Regions from separate parts of the Homo sapiens genome. Here region 1 is linked to region 2. The links are contacts of gene promoters, found by promoter capture Hi-C in blood cells and fetal thymus (Javierre and others, 2016). All regions are on one chromosome and are shown on one strand. The core of a region is centred on a gene start or on the middle of the fragment in contact, and the rest is flanking DNA. Distances in the headings are between cores, read along the strand shown. Region 1 overlaps LOC105373999 (a long non-coding RNA gene). Region 2 holds the start of OR5AC2 (olfactory receptor family 5 subfamily AC member 2).

The links. The method cuts DNA at HindIII sites, captures the fragments that hold promoters and counts their contacts. A CHiCAGO score of 5 or more calls a contact.
Region 1: a fragment that was not itself captured here is called in contact with the fragment with the promoter of OR5AC2 in region 2 in 1 of 17 cell types (endothelial precursors); the score reaches 5.8 in endothelial precursors.

The regions. Positions count from the first base shown.
Region 1 is chr3:98,296,236-98,301,676 of GRCh38, reverse strand. The region is part of intron 1 of LOC105373999 (a long non-coding RNA gene); the gene reads left to right. Among named protein-coding and RNA genes, the nearest start is that of OR5H2, 16 kb to the right of the region's middle. The HindIII fragment of the contact is 1,525 bases long and covers 928-2,452 here.
Region 2 is chr3:98,084,733-98,089,635 of GRCh38, reverse strand. It overlaps OR5AC2 (olfactory receptor family 5 subfamily AC member 2), which reads right to left and starts at 2,463. Exons shown (of 1, transcript NM_054106.1): 1 at 1,534-2,463. The coding sequence starts at 2,463. The coding sequence ends at 1,534. The HindIII fragment of the contact is 8,836 bases long and covers 994-4,903 here.

The DNA of each region.
Region 1 (5,441 bases), core at 441-2,940, 210 kb before region 2:
TCATAGTTTTTTGGCAGAGTCTTTAGGTTCATCCAAATATAAGATCATATCATCTGCAAACAAGAATAATTTGACTTCTTCCTTTCCAATTTGGATACCCTTTATTTCTTTCTCTTGTCTGATTGCTCTAGCTAGACTTCTAGTACCATGTTGACTAAAAGTGGTAAAAGTGGACATCCCTGTCATTTTCCAGATATTAGAAAAAAGGCTTTTATTATTCCCCATTTAGTATGATAATAGCTGTGGGTCTTTCATCTATGGCTTTTATTATGTTGAGATATGTTTCTTCTATATCCAGTTTTTTGAGGGTTTTTATCATAAAGGGGTATTGAATTTTATCAAATGTTTTTTCTGCATCAATTCAAATGATCATATGGGTTTTGTCTTTTATTCTGTTGATATGATGTATCACACTGATTGATATGCATATGCCAAACCATCCTTACATCCCTGGGATAAATCCAACTTGGTCATGATGAATGATTTTTTTAATGTGATGTTGAATTTGGCTTGCTACTATTTTGTGGATTTTTGCATGAATGCTCATCAGGAATATTGGCCTGTAGTCTTTTTTTGATATGTCTTTGGTAGCAAAGTAATACTGGCCTTGTAGAATGAGTATTCCTCCCAGCTCTATTTTTTGGGATAGTTTTAGGAGGATTGATGTTAAGTTATTCTTTAGATATTTGGTAAAATTCAGCAATGAAGCCAATTGACTGTATGTTTTCAAATATCCCATCTTCAAGCTCACTAATACTTTCTTATGCTCGATCAGTTCTGCTATTAAGAGATTCTGACGTAATCTTTATTATTTCAATTGCATCTTTCAGCTCCAGAATTTCTGCCTGATTCTTTTAAATTATTTCAGTCTGTTTGTTAAATTTATCTGACGGGTTTTTCCTTGTTTGGAGACTTCTTATTAAAGCTTCAGTCTCCTTACTTGTTATTGGTCTGATCAGGTTTTGGATTTCTGCATGGTTCAATCTGGGGAGGTGGCATCTAGGATTTTATCCATTTCTTCTACATTTTCAAATTTATTTACATATGGTTACTCATAGTAGTCCCTAATAATCATTTGCGTTTCTGTGGTATCAATTGTAATGTCTCCTTTTTTATCTCTGATTTTATTTATTTGGGTTTTCGTCTTTTTTTCTTAGGTAGTCTGGCTAATGGTTTGTCAATTTTGTTTATCCTTCTATAAAACCAACTTCTCATTTCCTTGATTTTTGTATTGTTTTCCTTTTTTCTTTTTCATTTATTTCTGCTCTAATTTTTATTGTTTATTTCCTTCTACTAATTTTGGATTTGGTTTGCTCTTGCTTTTCTAATTCTTTAGGATGCATTGTTCTGTTGTTTATTTGAAGTTTATCTATGTTTTTGTATGTAGACACTTATGGCTATAAACTTTCTTAGTACCAATTTTGCTGCATCCTATAGGTTTTGGTATATGTTGCATTTTCATTTTTGTTTGTTTCAAGAAAATTTTCAGTTTTCTTCATTGACTTACTGGTCATTCAGGTACATATTGTTTAATTTCTATGTGCTTGCATAGTTTCCAGAGTTCCTCTTGTTATTGACTTCTAATTTTATTCCATTATGTTAAGAGATGATACTTGATATTTCTTTTTTTTTTAATTCTTTGAGACTTGTTTTGTGCCATAACATATAGTCTATCCTTGAGAGCGATCTATGTGCATAGGAGAATAATGTGTATTCTGCAACTGTTGGATGAAATGTTCTGCAAATATCTATTAGGTCCATTTGGTCTATAGGGCAAATCACATTTAATGTTTCTTTGTTGATTTTGTGTCTGAAAGACCTGTCCAATGCTGAAAGTGGGATGTTGAAGTCTCCAGCTATTATTGTATTGGGGTCTATCTCTCTTCAGCTCTAGTAATATTTGCTTTATATATCTGGGTGCTCTAGTGTTGACTGCATATATATTTACAATAATTATATCTTATTGCTGAGTTGACCTCTTTATAATCACATAACCTTCTTAGTGCCCTTTTATACTTTTTGCCTTAAAATCTATGTTGTCTGATATAAGTATAGCTATTCCTCCTTTTTTTTTGTTTCCATTTGCATGCAACATCTTTTTCCATCCCATTATTTTCAATCTATGTGTGTCTTTATAGGTGAGGTGTGTTTCCTGTATGCAACAAATCATTGGGTCTTTTTAAAAAAATCTATTCAGCCACTATATATCTTTTGATTGGAGAGTTTAGTCTATTTATATTCCATGTTATTGTTCATCAGTAAGGTCTTACTCTTGCCATTTTGTTATTTGTTTTCTGGTTTTTTTGGTGGTATTCTGTCTTCTCTTCTTTTCTTCCTTCTTGTTTTCCATTTAGTGAAGGTGATTTTTCTTTGGTGGCATGTTTTAATTTCTTGATTTTTATTTTTTTGTGTATCTGGTGAAGGTTTTGTGATTTGAGATTGCCATGAAGCTTGCCAATACTATCTTATAACCCATTACTTTAAACTAATGATAAATTAACACTGATTGCATAGGCAAACAAACAAATCAACAAAGATAAACAAATACAATTCACTTTAACTTTATCTCCCCACTTTTCAATTTTTTATTGTTTCTATCTGTATCTTATTGTACTGTCTATGCTTGAAAAGTTGTAGTTTTGATTATTGATCACTTCATATTTAGTCTTTCTATTCAAGATGTGGGTAATTTATATGCCACAATTACAGTGTTGTTCTGTTTCTCTGTGTACTTACTATTACCAGTGAGTCTTGCATCTTCACATTATTTCTTATTGCTCATTAATGTTCTTTTCCGTCAGATTGAAGAACTCCCTTTAGCATTTATTATAGGACAGGTCTGATGTTGGTGAACTCCCTCAACTTTTGTTTGTCTGGGAAAATCGTTATTTCTCCTTCATGTTTGAAGGATATCTTCACTGTTTGTATTATTCTAAGATAAAAGTTTTTTTCTTCAGCACTTCAAGTATGTCATGCCACTCTCTCCTGGCCTGTAAGGTTTCTACTGAAAAGTCTTTTGCAAGACATATCGGAGCTCCATTGTATGTTATTTTTTTTAATTTTCTCTTGCTGCTTTTAGAATTCTTTCTTTATTTTTGACCTTAGGGAGTTTGATTGCTAAATGTCTTTAGGTAGGCTTCTTTAGGTTAAATATATTTGGTGTTCTATAACCTTCTTGTACTTGGATATTGATATCTTTCTGTAGGTTTGAGAAGTTCTCTGTTATTATCCCTTTGAATAAACTTTCTACCCCATCTCTCTTTTTATCTACTCCTTAAGGCCAATACCTCTTAGATTTTCTCTTTTAAGGCTATTTTCTACATCTTTTAGGCATGCTTCATTCTTTTGTATTTTTTTTTCTTTCATCTCCTCTGATGGTGTATTTTCAAATATCCTGTCTTCAAGCTCACTAATACTTTCTTATGCTTGATCAGTTCTATTTATTTCAATTGCATTTTTCAACTCCAGAATTTCTGCTTGATTCTTTTAAATTATTTCAGTCGCTTTGTTAAATTTATCTGACGGGATTCTGAGTTCTTTTTTTGTGTGTTATCTCAAAATTCGTGGAGTTTCCTCAAAGCAGCTATTTTGAATTCACTGTTTGAAAGGTCACATATCTCTGCTTCTCATGGATGGATTCCTGGTGTCTTACTTAGTTCATTTGGTAGGTCATGATTTTCTGGATTGTCTTGAAGCTTGTGGATGTCTTTCAATGTCTGGTATTTATTATTGTCTTTGCAGTCTGGGCTTATTTGTACCCATCCTTCTTGGGAAGACTTTATGGGTATTTGAAGGAACTTGGGTGTTTTAATGTAAGTTTTTGGTCACTACAGCCATATCTGTATTAGGAGGCAATCCAAGCCAAGTAACACTGTGGTTCTCACAAAGAGGTAAAACCTTGGTGGTCTTGGATAAGATCTGGAAGAATTCCCGGGGTTATCTGGTAGAGACTCTTGTTCTCTTCCCTTACTTTCTCCAAAACAAATGGTGTCTCTGTCACTCTGCTGAGCTGCCTGAAGCTGGGGTTTGGGTGCCATACACTACTGGGGCTGTGCTGGGTTAGAACTGAAGCCAGCACAGCACTGGGTCATACCCAAGGCCCATGGTAACCACTACCTGACTACTGCCTATGTTCACTCAAGGCCTTAGAGCTTTACAAAGAGCAGGTGGCAAAGCCCTCCAGTATTCTTTCCTTCCCTTCAGGGCAGTGAGTTTCCCTCATCCACAGGTGGATTCATAGATGCTATGTGGGAGCCAGAACCTAAAGTCAGAAACCGTAAGAATTTACCTGGTTCTCTGTTCTGTGGCTGAACTTGCACCCAAGCCACAAGACAAAGTCTTTATCACTATTCTCTTTCCTTTCTACAATTAGAGGTGTCTCTCCTCATGGCTACTACTGCCCCAGTCCCATGATGAGTACTGCCTGGCTACTGCTAATGTTCAATCCAAACGCAAAGGCTCATTAGTCAGCTTGTGGTGAATGCTGCCAAGTCTGGGACTCTCTTTCAGAGCAGTGGGTATCTCTCTGGCCGATAAAGGACCAGAAATGCCATCCAAGAGCCAAAGCCTAGACTCAGAGACCACAAGATCCTGTTTAGTACTCTATCCCACTGTGGCCAAACTGGTACCTAAGCTGCAAGACAAAGTCTCCTTTATTCTTCCGTTTTTTTTCCTCAAGCAGAACGAATGTTCCACTATAGCCACCACAGCTGTGAATGTAATGGGTCACATCTGAAACCAGCACATCTCTGAGTCTTACCCAAGGCCCATGGTGAGTACTGCCTGGGTACCACTGATGACTATTCAGGGCCCAAGAGCACTTTAAATAGCAAGGGATGAATCCTGCCAGGACTGGGCTCTTCCCTTCAAGGCAGCAGGTTCCTTTCTGGCCCAGGGTGTGTCTAGAAATGTCATCCAGGAACTTGGACCTGGAACTGGGGCCTCCTGGTGCCCTGTCCTACTCTGATTGAGCTGGTATCCAAATTGCAGATCAAAGTCCTCTTTACTTTTTCCTTTCTGCTCCTCAAGTGGAAGGAAGGAATGATTCCTGGATTTGCAGTCATTCCTGGATCTGCAAGAATGTACAACCTGGGGTTGGGGGAGGAGTGGCACAAACACTTGCTTGGTCACCGCAGCTGGTTTCTCACTAGGTTGCATGCCCCTCAGGTCCACTGGCTCTTAGCCTAACACAGCAGTAGGACTTGCCCAGGAATTATGGTCCTTGTGGCCTAGACTGCCTTTCAAGTTTATTTAAGGTGACAGAGCACTTTAGACTGTAGTGTCGAGGCTTGCCAGAACTCAGGTACCAACTGTTGGGATGAGCAATTCCGTGCTGGCTATGACTGGTCTAAATGTTTCCTCTGTGGGCACTGAGTTCTGCCTGGTGTTGCTTTCCCCTCTGACAGGCCAGCACAGAGTTCCAATGAAAAGTCCCACAATCA
Region 2 (4,903 bases), core at 1,214-3,713:
TTCTGTATGTCACTTTCCTTTTTCTGTCCACAAATCTTCCACCATGTAGCTGCCGTGGAGTCTCTGAGCCTACTCTGGCTGGGAAACTGCCCAATTGGCAAATTGTTCTCTGCTCAATTAAACTTTTTAAAATTTTATTCAGCTAAAATTTTTCTTTAACAAGTTTCACTCCTGTTGCAACAACTTAAATTTTAATTTTCATTTCCTATTAATTCTTTCTTCCTAAATATAATGCTTGAAAAAACAGCTTGCTCAAAGAACATGATTCATACTTTGCAAAAGGAAATATGTGTCAGTTCCATTTTGCTAAAATAGCTGATACATATATTAACGTAGGTCTGTCACTGAAAAGAAGTAAGTTGTGGGAGGCCGAGGCAGCAGGATTACCTGAGGTCAGGAGTTCAAGACCAGCCCGGCCAGTGTGGTGAAATCCTGTCTCTATTAAAAACACAAAAATTAGCCCGCCTGGTGGCATATGCCTGTAATTCTAGCTACTCAGTAGGCTGAGGCGGGAGAATAGCTTGAACCTGAGAGGCAGAGGTTGCAGTGAGTCGAGACTGCACCACTGCACTCCAGCCTGGACAACAGAGACTCTGTCTCAAACAAAAAAAAAAAAAAAAAAAAAAAGGAAGTAAATTGGTGGCTGACACCAAGAGAACCTGATCTCACCTTTAAAAGAATCTACCAGCTCAATTTTACACCAATATCCATACATATTTGACCTGTTTCTTATCCTTGTCTTCTGCCTCTTGGAGTATAGCAATGCAATCTCTATGCAAATTTTTTTATCATGCTTATAATTGCAAACAAAATATTCCTGTAAATAGAGTATAGAAGATCTGTACTGTTTGAGAAGGCTATATCCTGAGATATTTTCTAACCTGCATATTATTGAATGCAATTGTATTATATAATGCCTTATATTAAAGCTAGTATATCGACTTTAGATATGGAAAGTTTTAAATTTTGATGGTCCATTGTTCAAGACAAGCTTTTAAAAATTTTTGTCATTAAGATATACCAGAAATTAAAAATTAAAAAATACACCATTTTTTAAACTCTTAATTTTTATTACTATTTCTCACTTTTATTTCTAGAACACTTTTTCTGCAAGACTCTGAGTTTTTATCATTTTATTCTTGTATGGTAGGGTATCACAGAGCCTAGTGCAGTAAACTAGGTTTGTGAACTAAATGGCTCTTATATAACAGTTTCAATTATTGTCGGTTATTCAATGGAATTTAGATGTAGGGTCCCTGGAAAATAATAAATTTTCAAGATTAAATGTTCAGAAAACAAGGAAGTAAAATGTTTTTAAAGAAATCAACCATGGTTGATGTAAAGACACTTCAACTGGACCCAAATCCAAGTAAACATTGTACAAAGCTGGGTTTCTTCACGTAGTGCTCAGTGACCACCCTGACCACTAGCCCTCTGATGAAATGGCAGAGCCATGGCTAACCACAAGACTTGTTGACTTATTTATGCAAAGGGTGAAAAAATAAATGATTTGACATTTCCCTTTGGAACTGTTTACTTCCTTATAACTCTTCTCAATGCATGCATGACTTTTTTATTTCTCAAGCTGTAAATAAATGGGTTTAGCAGGGGAATTATAATCGTGTAAAACAGAGAATACACTTTGTCTTGGTCTTCAGCTAAGCCAGATGCAGGACGCACATACATGAAGATCAGAGTTCCGTAGTACAATGAGACAGAAAGCAGATGGGCGCCGCATGTGGAGAAGGCTTTGCTTCTGCCCTTTTCAGACTTTTTTTTCAGAATATCAAAGAGCACACGAGTATAAGAGATTATGATAGTCATTAAAGTGGGTATTTGTATAAAAGCACCAAAAATAAATATCATTAGTGCGTTAATAGATGGACCATTGCATGAAATTTTGAACAGTTGTAAAATTTCACAGTAGAAATAATGTATTATGTTAAACCTGCAGAAAGTTAGTCGCAATAGTAAACTCACATGAACCAGAGGATGCAGGAAACCAATTACATATGAAATACTTAGCAACTGAGCGCTGAGTTTGTTGGACATCATCACTGGATAAAGCAAGGGATTACATATGGCTACATAGCGGTCATAGGCCATCATCACCAGGAGGAAGCATTCTGTAGTTGCACTGGAAGCAAAAAAGTAAAACTGGGTGATGCACTCAGCTAGGGATATCATTGCAGTCTTGTCTAAGAAATTGACCAGCATCCTAGGGGTTATAGAGGTTGAAGTACAAGCATCTGAAAAGGCTAAACCACCAAGGAATAAGTACATGGGCATATGAAGATGGGGGTCGTTCCAAATTAGAACTATCAGTCCAAGGTTGCCCACCATGGTGATGAGATAGACCACCAAAAACACAACAAAGAAGAGGACGTGCAGCCATGGTCGATCTGTAAGTCCTGTGAGAACAAACTCTGTCACAAGAGTCTTATTTCCCTCTGATATATCCATACTCGTCACTGTAATAAGAAAACATGTTACAAAGACAATCACTAAAGATAACACAAAGCGGTAGCATTTTATTATATTTATACCTTTGAGTTTCCCATTTAATTAACAGTTTTTAAAGTCTAACTTACATCCATTAGTAAAATCTGTTTACAAAGTGTGTGTTTAGGTATTTGACACTAAAATTGGAAAATACTGAAATGAATGCATATATTTGAGGTGTAGGGGAGGCAAAATTTTGCCTCTACTCTCTTAGTTGGCCTGAGAATCAGATGGACATAAGCCAGATTCAGAAGAGAAAAGCATACAAATGTATAAAAGTTTTACATAACATAAAAGTCCTCATAAGTAAATGAAGACCTGAACATGTGGCAAAACCTAAAGGCTTTCATACTAGGTTGAACAAAGAAAAGCAATTGTGGAAAAGCAGCTAAATTATGCAGGGAGGTAAAAGGAAGATTAGAATTATTTTAACAAGCGTTGTTTGTATAGAATTCTCTTGGATAGAATTCATTAAAAAATGAAAATAATGTTTCATTTCTTCTGGTACAGGGAGGGCATCTTTTACATGGGAGTTTTTAACCACTTGTTTTGAGGAAGAAGAGGTGAAATTAGAATGCCCTTCTTCCATCTGCTGTTTCTTTATGTACCTTTAGCTCAAAATAATCCATCTGCCAAAGTGGCATATTTTGGTGTGGCATATTCTACCACCCTCCAGAGGCAATAAAACCATGTGGAAGACCATTGCAATGGAAAAAGATGCAAATCCAAAACCATTGCATGAGAAAGAGAATTAGGCTAATCATTGAATATAGGCATAGCTACCTAATTTTTATGGCATGACAAAAGAATTCATAAAAAATGGGAAAGGACAAAACATGTTGGAAAAATATCTGTAACATAATTTGCATTAATACTTATAAAAATATATACACAACACATATATTCTCTTTTTTTTTTTTTTTTTTTTTTGAGACGGAGTCTCGCTCTGTCACCCAGGCTGGAGTGCAGGGGCGCCATCTCGGCTCACTGCAAGCTCCGCCTCCCGGGTTCACGCCATTCTCCTGCCTCAGCCTCCCGAGTAGCTGGGACTACAGGCGCCCGCCACTACGCCCGGCTAACTTTTTGTATTTTTAGTAGAGACGGGGTTTCACCGTGGTCTCGATCTCCTGACCTCATGATCCGTCCGCCTCGGCCTCCCAAAGTGCTAGGATTACAGGCGTGAGCCACCGCGCCCGGCCCACAACACATATACTCTCTTACAACTTGGCAGGAACAAGTAGACAACCTAATGAAAAAAATGAGTGAAAAATATGAACAGATATGTTTACCATGATTAATAAATATGTAAAAAAAAACCGATAAATATATGAAACAATGTTCAACCTCCTTAATAATTAAGGATATTTTTTAAATTGTCGCATCGTTTTCATTTGTCAAATAAACAAAAAAGTAAAATGAGAAATAATATCTACTGATGATAGAAAGGTGAAAAAGAGTTGCAATCTAAAATAACTGACATAAATTTTAACTGCCTTTCAAAGCTGACATCTATCAAAATTAGTAATTTATATATCTTTGATCTAACAATCTCACTTCTGGATATATATTCTAGAAATATTGTCACCCAGATACAAACGTGAAACACAAGGATACCTAATAAAGCATTGTTCATGAAGACAAAGCCAGGAAACAAAAAGAATACTCATCAATTATAGAATGACTGAATAAATTATGGTACAGTCTGACTGTGGAATAGTCTTCAGATATAAAGAAAATGGATTTGAGCTGTACCTGTTAAAAATCGGAGCATTTTCTCAATGCATTATTAAGTAAAAAAATCAAAATAGAAAGAAATGTAAATTACATAGTTCCATTTATATTTTTAATTTTTTGCGTATAAATATAAATATGATATGAACATAGATAAAGATTAATTTTTTTCTATAACTTATAAACTATCTTTGAAAGAATTTCCAGCGTAGAGCTTCCCAAATGTTTTGGGGTAAATGTGTACAAAATGATGATTACCTGCATGTTAATAGAAATAAGAATAATAAAATGCTATTTTTACCTTTAGTAAGGAATATTTGGCATTGATAGTTCTAATGTAAAATTAGTAATAAATAACCTGTAAATTTTTCTTAGAAAATATCTATTAATGATCTTTTATGTTTCATGATAATTTGCATTTAAATATTTGGTAATAGACAACTATTGAGAGCAGGAATGATTTTTTGAAATAGTCAAAAATATCTGGAAATTATGTAAGATAGATCCACGTATAGTTGTTTTCATAGTTTTTTCATACACTTTCAACACTTTTCTTATTAAATTTTACTCATAAGGGCTTCATAGGTTCTATTGCTATTATGAATATAGTATCTGATATTTTCATGAAGTAATAAGATTGATTTTCTTCTATGACTTGGTTATAAACTAT